Regions from separate parts of the Homo sapiens genome. Here region 2 is linked to region 1. The links are contacts of gene promoters, found by promoter capture Hi-C in human tissues and cell types (Jung and others, 2019). All regions are on one chromosome and are shown on one strand. The core of a region is centred on a gene start or on the middle of the fragment in contact, and the rest is flanking DNA. Distances in the headings are between cores, read along the strand shown. Region 1 holds the start of KRTCAP3 (keratinocyte associated protein 3). Region 2 overlaps SPATA31H1 (SPATA31 subfamily H member 1).

Region 1 (3,303 bases), core at 665-3,164:
AAGAAAAGAGAAGTTACTTTATTACAATTTGTTATCTCATCCCGAGGTCAGGGCCCCTTGCTTAGTGGGAAAAAAAACCCTTTAGGACTGAGTCTCGGAACAGCACCTGCTGGACAGAGGGGAGAACCAACCCAGGTCAGAGGGGAAAGCAGCATGGCAAGACCTAGACCCAGTTCTAAGAGCACTTCCTTGTCCCCGCTCTTACCCGGGCCACCACCTTCAAGGCCCATTACCTGTCCTAAACCCAACTTCTCTGTGATGCCCGGATTTCTTGATTTTGATCCAGTAGCTGCTCATTTTCCTGCCTTTTACATTTAGGAGATTCAAGCTCTGTCATTTCCTCTAGCTGCAGAAGAAGATAGAGTTAGACACCCTCGCCCTGAATGATAGGTCAGCATCTTTTTTTTGTTTTGTTTTTTGTGACGGAGCCTCACTCTGTTGCCCAGGCTGGAGTGCAGTGGCGTGATCTCGGTTCACTGCAACCTCCGCCTTCCGGGTTCAAGCGATTCTCCTGCCTCAGCCTTCCAAGTAGCTGGGATTACAGGCGCCCACCACCCCACCTAATTTTTTGTATTTTTAGTAGAGACGAGGTTTCACCATGTTGTCCAAGCTGGTCTCAAACTCCTGACCTCAAGTGATCCGCCTGCCTCAGCCTCCCAAAGTGCTGGGATTACAGGTGTGAGCCTCCGCACCCGGCCGGTCAGCATCTTTTCAACACAGCCAGTCTCTGTGGAATGAACCCTTCCTGTTTGCCTTCCTTACCTGCCCCTGAAGTCCGTCCTTCCTGCAGGGCCCAACTCCACGTAGAGTGAGTGCAGCCACACAGCAGTAACCAGATAGAGCAGCCTCCCCTGCAGACATGAGCAAAGAAGGGATCCAGAGAGCCAAGGCTGTATCCTGAAAAGCAAGAAGGATGGGGAGTAGGAGGGAGTAGGGCAAGTGCAGCAAATAGGGGAAATTAAAAGGGCAGGACCAAGGCTTTGTAGACCACAAGAAGGAAGAGAATGTGCTCACATAGATTCTTGTGGGGTCAAAGGGGCAGTCAGTATGTCCCGGCCCCTCATCCAGTGGTACCAGAGGATCCAGCAGTCCTGGGTGGCAGTCAGCAATAAGGCGGCGGCCACCGTTGGCCACAGTGAGTGACACAGCAAGAAGGAGGCCCAGGGAGCAGGCAACGGACAAGAGCAGGTTCACCAGAGCTAGTGCCAGCAGGACCCAGTGCTGGCAGGGACAGGAGATCAGGGTGAGCAGCCTGGGCCTGGCTAACTCTCCCAGTGACTAGACACCCAGTTTCTCTGAGGCTCCTCCAATCTATTGAAAGACCAAGCTCAGTCAGCCCCCATTTCCCTGACTCAAGCCTACTCGTTAAAAGCTCCAGGGAAGTCCCTCTCACCAGTGGAGGGCGAAGAAGGTTCCTGGACGCCAGGAGGGCCACAAGTCCCACGGAAACGCTCTGTGGAAGACACAAAGCCTTTGGCCTGCTGGGCTCTCCGGGAGCCCGGCCCCCGCCCGGGTCGCCTGCCGCGCTCACCAGCAGCCCCGAGCCGACAGAGATGACATTGGCTACGGTGTACTCCGGCGTGACAGCGCCGCGGGGATTGGCCACGTGCCGCAGGACGGTGCCATGCAGCACGGCCCCCAGCAGCAGGTTCACGTGGCCCACCAAGATCAGCGCGAGGCCCACACGCATCAGCCGCCTGGGCCCCCGGGCGGCGTCTGCAAAGCACGGGGGAGGGCAGGGTTGAGTCGGGCGGGGAGGGGAGAGGCGGCTCGCGGCGGGTTAACCGCGGGCAGTAGGACGGGGCAAGGGTAGCCCCAGGGTAAGGAGACGAGACGCCAGGGCCCGGAAGTTACCGAAAGCGCAGAGACTGCAGCGCCTCATCCCGTCCGCCGCGCCAGCCGCAGGGCCGCTGTACCTGGGCCCGGCCCCGCCCCAACCTGGGCCCCGCCTCCGTCCCGGGTCCCCCTCCCACCTGGGCCCCGCCTCCGCCCCGGGCCCGCTCCCCCTGGCGGGAAAGGCGCGAACACACGACGCTTTTAGCAAAAAGTAGACTTTTATTACAGCAGCAACTGAGGCGAATCGAATGGCCCCCCAGGGCCACCACTGCAGCACCACCTTTCTCTCCCGCCCCGGCCGCCCCAGCGGGATTGTAGAATTCGGCTCCCCTAGTGCCCGTGGGCCTCCTTTCCACACAGGCTGGGCGGGAGCCGGCAGATCAGCGACTAGCCCCCAACTAGAAGGCGGCTGCTGAGAAGGCCCAGGCCCACGTCTGTGCAAAACAAGTAAACAAAGTGCAGAGGGGAGGAAGAGAGGGGAGGGGAAAGGATGATGCTCAGAACCAGGGAGCCCCCCCAGCCCTCCTGAATAATAAAGGAGGGAAGGGGCTTCACAGGGTAATACTGACTGGGGGGAAGGGACAGGAGGGCTGCAGCACGTCCAGGGACAGCCACAGCGCAGATCAGGGCCTGGCCCGAGTGAGCTCTAAGAGGAGACGGTGACAGCGGCTGAGTTGAGGGTACTGTTCCTGGCAAAATTGAACTTGTTCAAGGTCTCTTCTAGCAGAGAAGTCAACCGGCTCTGGTCAGCCTGGGGGAGAAGAGCTCAGTAAGATGGGGGCTGAGAGAAGAGAAGGCATGGGGGCAGCCAGGGCAGATGAAGGCAGAAACCTCACCTCACTAATGAAGCCCAGCTGCACCAGCTCAGCCGCCAACTCGGGGATATTCTCATCTGACAAAGAAACAGGAGGGGGTGAGTACAGTACGGGACTGAGGGACCTGGGGCCCTTCAGACAGCCCCACTAGGGCTAAACTGTCAGTCAGATCCACCCACTGCTTTAGGGTCTAAGATAGTCATTCTATGTGAGTCAATGTGTTACTGCCTTGTCACCTCCCCCACCCCTGAATATGTCCCTAAAAGATAAGGCTCATAGACTCTCCATCCTCTGAGGGAAAGGAGAGACTCACTTGGCATCAGGTCACAGCTCAGGTGCCGGTTCAGTTTGTCCTCCAACTTCAGCAGAAGTGTCAGCTGGAGAATAGGACAGTCAGAAAATGAGACTTTTCTTCCCTACCCTCTGGCTACTAGCCCTGCGCAACCCTAGCCCTGAGCCTTACGTGGTGTTTGACTCCCTCCTCCACCGACTCAATGTTGCACTGCATCAGCACCACCTAGGGAGGGAAGAGAGGGTCACTCTAGAGACCTGTCCATAAAAAACCCAATACCTAGACGTCTTTCGAGCCCATAGGGCATGGCTGCTAGGGAGCATTTTCTCTAAAGGATAGAGCCTTATTTGAGATGTCCTC
Region 2 (3,778 bases), core at 323-2,822, 130 kb before region 1:
TCTGTAGAGTTCACCGTCTGAAGCTTTATCAACCCAGATTTCATATCTTCCAACTTTGCCCCAGGATTATATTCTACAGATTTCACACCCTGAAGGTGTATCCCTGGTGTCAACATAGATAATTTTCTATCTTGTAACTGTGAAGTTGAGCTTAACTCCAAAGATGTCCTATCCTGTACCTTTGTACCTACAGTCAATTCAGAAGATTTCACATCTTGCCGCATTGGCCTAGGCATGAGCACAGATTTCACTTTTTGAAGCTTTGTCGCTGGGATCACTTCAGAAGATTTCATACCTTGCAAGTGTGATCCAGAACTGAACTCCATAGATTTTACATCTTGAAGCTCTGTCCCCATTATTGAGTTAGAATATTTTGTATCTTGCCACTGTGGGCCCGAGTTGAACTCCACAGATTCCCCACCTTGAAGCTTTGTCTCTGGTGTTAACTCAGAAGATGTCACACCTTGTAACTTTAGACCATGGTGGAATTCTACAGATTTAACATCTTGATGGTTTGTTCCCTGAATCAACTCAGAAGATTTTTCGCTTTGTGTCTGTTGTCCAGAATTGAAATCCATTGATTTCATACTTTGAAGCCTTGTCCCTGAGGTTACCTCAGAAGATTTTATACCTTGAAAGTGTTGTCCAGAACTGAACTTCATAGATTTTACATCTTGAAGCTTTATACCCATGATCAGATCAGAAGATTTTATATCTTGTAACTGTGGGCCTGATTCCAGCTCTACAGATTTCACACCTGGAAACTTCCTCCCCAGGGTCAAATCAGATTTCTCACTTTGTAACTTTGGACTAGGTTTGAATTCTACCGATTTCACACCCTGAAGCTTTCCCCCTGGAATCACTTCAGAAGATTTCACAGTCTGTAAGTGTGGTCCAGAACTGAAATCCATAGATTTAATGTCTTGACACTTTATACCAATGATCAACCTAGAAGATTTCAAATCTTGCAACCGTGGGCCTGAGTTGCATTCCATTAATTTCACTTCTTGAAGCTTTGTCTTCGGTATCGACTCAGAAGATTTCACTCCTTGCAACTGTGGCCCAGGTTTGAAGTCTGTAGATTTGACACCTTGAATCTTGGTCCTTGTGGTCAAATCATAATATGGGATATCTTTCAATTGTGAACTGGGGTTTAACTCTCTAAACTTCATGTCTTGGGACTTTGTCTTAGGGTTCAACTTAGAAGATTTGACACATTGCCATTGTGGCCCAGAGTTGAACTCCTCAGATTTCATACCTGGAAGTTCTGTCTGATGAGCCAATTCAGATGATTTCTTGCTTTTCAAGTGTAGTAAGGAGTTCAGCGCTACAGTTTTATCACTTTGTAATGGTAGCTCTTGGCTTAATACTCCAGATTTCACCCCTGAAAACTGTGGCACTTGTGTAAACGCTGGAGACTTCACATCTTGCAGCTGTGTTCCTGGGCATGCCTCCAAGGGTTTCACTTTGTGCAGCTGTGGTCTTGGGGTCAACTCAGAAGATTTCACATCTTGCGAGTGAAGCCCAGGTTTGAATGCCATAGATTTTATATCACAGAGCTTTGATGTTGAAATTGGGCCACATGATTTCACAGTTCTCAACTGTAGCCCAGATTTCAAAGCAATAGGTTTGAGCCCTGGCAACTGATGTTCCTGGAGTGATGTCAAAGGTTGTATACTTTGGAGCTTTGGCCTTGGAGTCAACTCAGATGACTTCACATTTCTTAATTGTACTGAAGGTTTCAATTCTACAGTTGTGACAACTCGAGATTGTGAACCACATTTTAGCACAGATTTCACACCTTGGAACTCAGGTCCTGGTATCCACTGCACAGAGTTCACACTTCCAAGCTGTGAGTCTTTGTTTGACTCCACATCTTTTACACCTTGAAGCTGTGGCTCTGAGGTTGACGCCAGAATTTTCCCTTTCTGCAACTGTGGTCCTCGGGACATCTTAGGAGTTTTCACACATTGCAACTGTGGCCCAAAGTTAAACTCCACAGGTTTTGCACCTTGAAGTTTTGGCCCTAGAGTCAATTCAGATGATTTTACACCTCCCGACTCTGTGGAGGATTTCAACTCTGCAGGCTTGACACCTCGAGATTGTGAACCAAGATTCAACCCTACAGTTTTTACACCTTGGAACTCAGGTCCTGATATCCACTGCACAGATTTCGCATTTCCAAGCTGTGAGTCTTGGTTTAGCTCTACAGTTTTCACACCTTGAAAATATGGCTCTGAGGTCGATGCTGGAATTTTCCCTTTTTGCAGCTGTGGTCCTTGGGACAACTCAGGAGCTTTCACAAAGTGCAACTGTGACCCAAGGTTAAACTCCATAGATGTTACACTTTGAAGTTTTGGCCCTAGAGTCAGTTGAGATGACTTTACACCTCCTGACTCTATGGAAGATTTCGACTCTCCAGGTTTGACACCTTGAGATTGTGAACCAAGATTTAACCCTATAGTTTTTACACCTTGGAACTCAGGTCCTGGTATCCACTGCACAGATTTCACACTTGTAAGCTGTGAGTCTTGGTTTAACTCCACAGTTTTCACACCTTGAAGTTGTGGCTCTGAGGTGGATGCTAGCATTTTCCCTTTTTGCAGCTGTGGTCCTGAAGACAACTCAGAGGTTTTTACACACTGCAACTGTGGCCCACGGTTAAACTCCATAGGTTTTGCACCTTGAAGTTTTGGCTCTAGAACCAATTTAGATGCTATCATATCTCCCAACTGTATGGAAAGTTTCAATTCTGCAGGTTTGACACTTCGAGATTGTGACCCAAGATTTAACCCTACAGATTTTAGACCTTGGAACTCAGGTCTTGTTATCCACTGAACAGATTTCATTCTTCCAAGCTCTAGCTCTTTGTTTAACTCCACAATTTTCACACTTTGAATCTGTGGCTCTACAGTCGAGCCCAAGGGTTTCACTTGGTGCAACTGTGGTCCTGGGGTCAACTTGGGAGATTTCATACTTTGCAACTGTGGTTCATGTTTGAACTCTTTAGCTTTTACATCTTGCATATTTGATTCTGGAGTCAATTCAGATGATTTTATACCTTTCGACTGTAGGTCAGACTTGAGGTCTACCGATTTTATACCTTCAGATTTTGGCTCTGGAATTAACTCCAAAGACATTACACCTTCTGACTCAGACCCTTTCTTTACTTGCTCAAAATTCACACATTGCTGCTCTTGTGAGTTTACAGATATCTGACCATCCTGTTCAGGCTCAAGGGTTAAATCCACAGGTGCCATCCCTTGAAACTGTTGCTTTAGGGCTAAATCCACAGATTTTACTTCTTCAAACTCTTCTCCTCTGGTTATATTCACAAATTTTACTGCCTGCCTCTTTTGCCATGGGGTCAACTTTACAGGTTTTACACATTGCAGATGTGGATCTTGAGTCTCCTTTATAGATTTTAAACTTCGAAGCTTTAAACATGGAGTAATCTCCACAAATTTCATATCTTGCATTTGTGGGACTGAGGTCAGTTCTTCAGGTTTCACACTTTGTAGCTGAGGCCTTTGAAGCGTCTCCATAGATTTAACCCCTTGAAGCAATGGCCCTGGTGCAAAAGCCATAGACTCACCTTGCATCTTTAGCCCAAGTTTTAATTTAGCAGTTTTCATATCTTGCAGCTGTGTACCTAGGACCAACTCCTCAGTTTTTAAATCTTGAATTCTTGAACATGGAGTCAACTCCACAGATTTTACACCTTGAAGCTCAGAATCAGGGGTGAATTCCACAGATTTGACATCTTCTGTCTGTGACC

What was found. The method cuts DNA at HindIII sites, captures the fragments that hold promoters and counts their contacts. A contact is called where the count stands out against the background at its distance.
Region 2: a fragment that was not itself captured here is called in contact with the fragment with the promoter of KRTCAP3 in region 1 in 6 of the 25 tissues and cell types used here (H1 embryonic stem cells, IMR-90 fibroblasts, bladder and 3 more).

The regions. Positions count from the first base shown.
Region 1 is chr2:27,440,992-27,444,294 of GRCh38, reverse strand. It overlaps KRTCAP3 (keratinocyte associated protein 3), which reads right to left and starts at 1,914. Exons shown (of 7, transcript NM_173853.4): 1 at 1,855-1,914; 2 at 1,532-1,716; 3 at 1,394-1,453; 4 at 1,015-1,221; 5 at 763-897; 6 at 234-346; 7 at 1-109. The coding sequence starts at 1,882. The coding sequence ends at 239. It overlaps NRBP1 (nuclear receptor binding protein 1), which reads right to left. Exons shown (of 18, transcript NM_013392.4): 15 at 3,115-3,168; 16 at 2,965-3,028; 17 at 2,673-2,728; 18 at 2,036-2,587. The coding sequence ends at 2,483. RefSeq lists an enhancer at 1,237-1,779. The HindIII fragment of the contact is 11,668 bases long and covers 1-3,303 here.
Region 2 is chr2:27,571,399-27,575,176 of GRCh38, reverse strand. It overlaps SPATA31H1 (SPATA31 subfamily H member 1), which reads right to left. Exons shown (of 5, transcript NM_032266.5): 5 at 1-3,778. Among named protein-coding and RNA genes, the nearest start is that of ZNF512, 9.8 kb to the left of the region's middle. The HindIII fragment of the contact is 4,221 bases long and covers 1-3,682 here.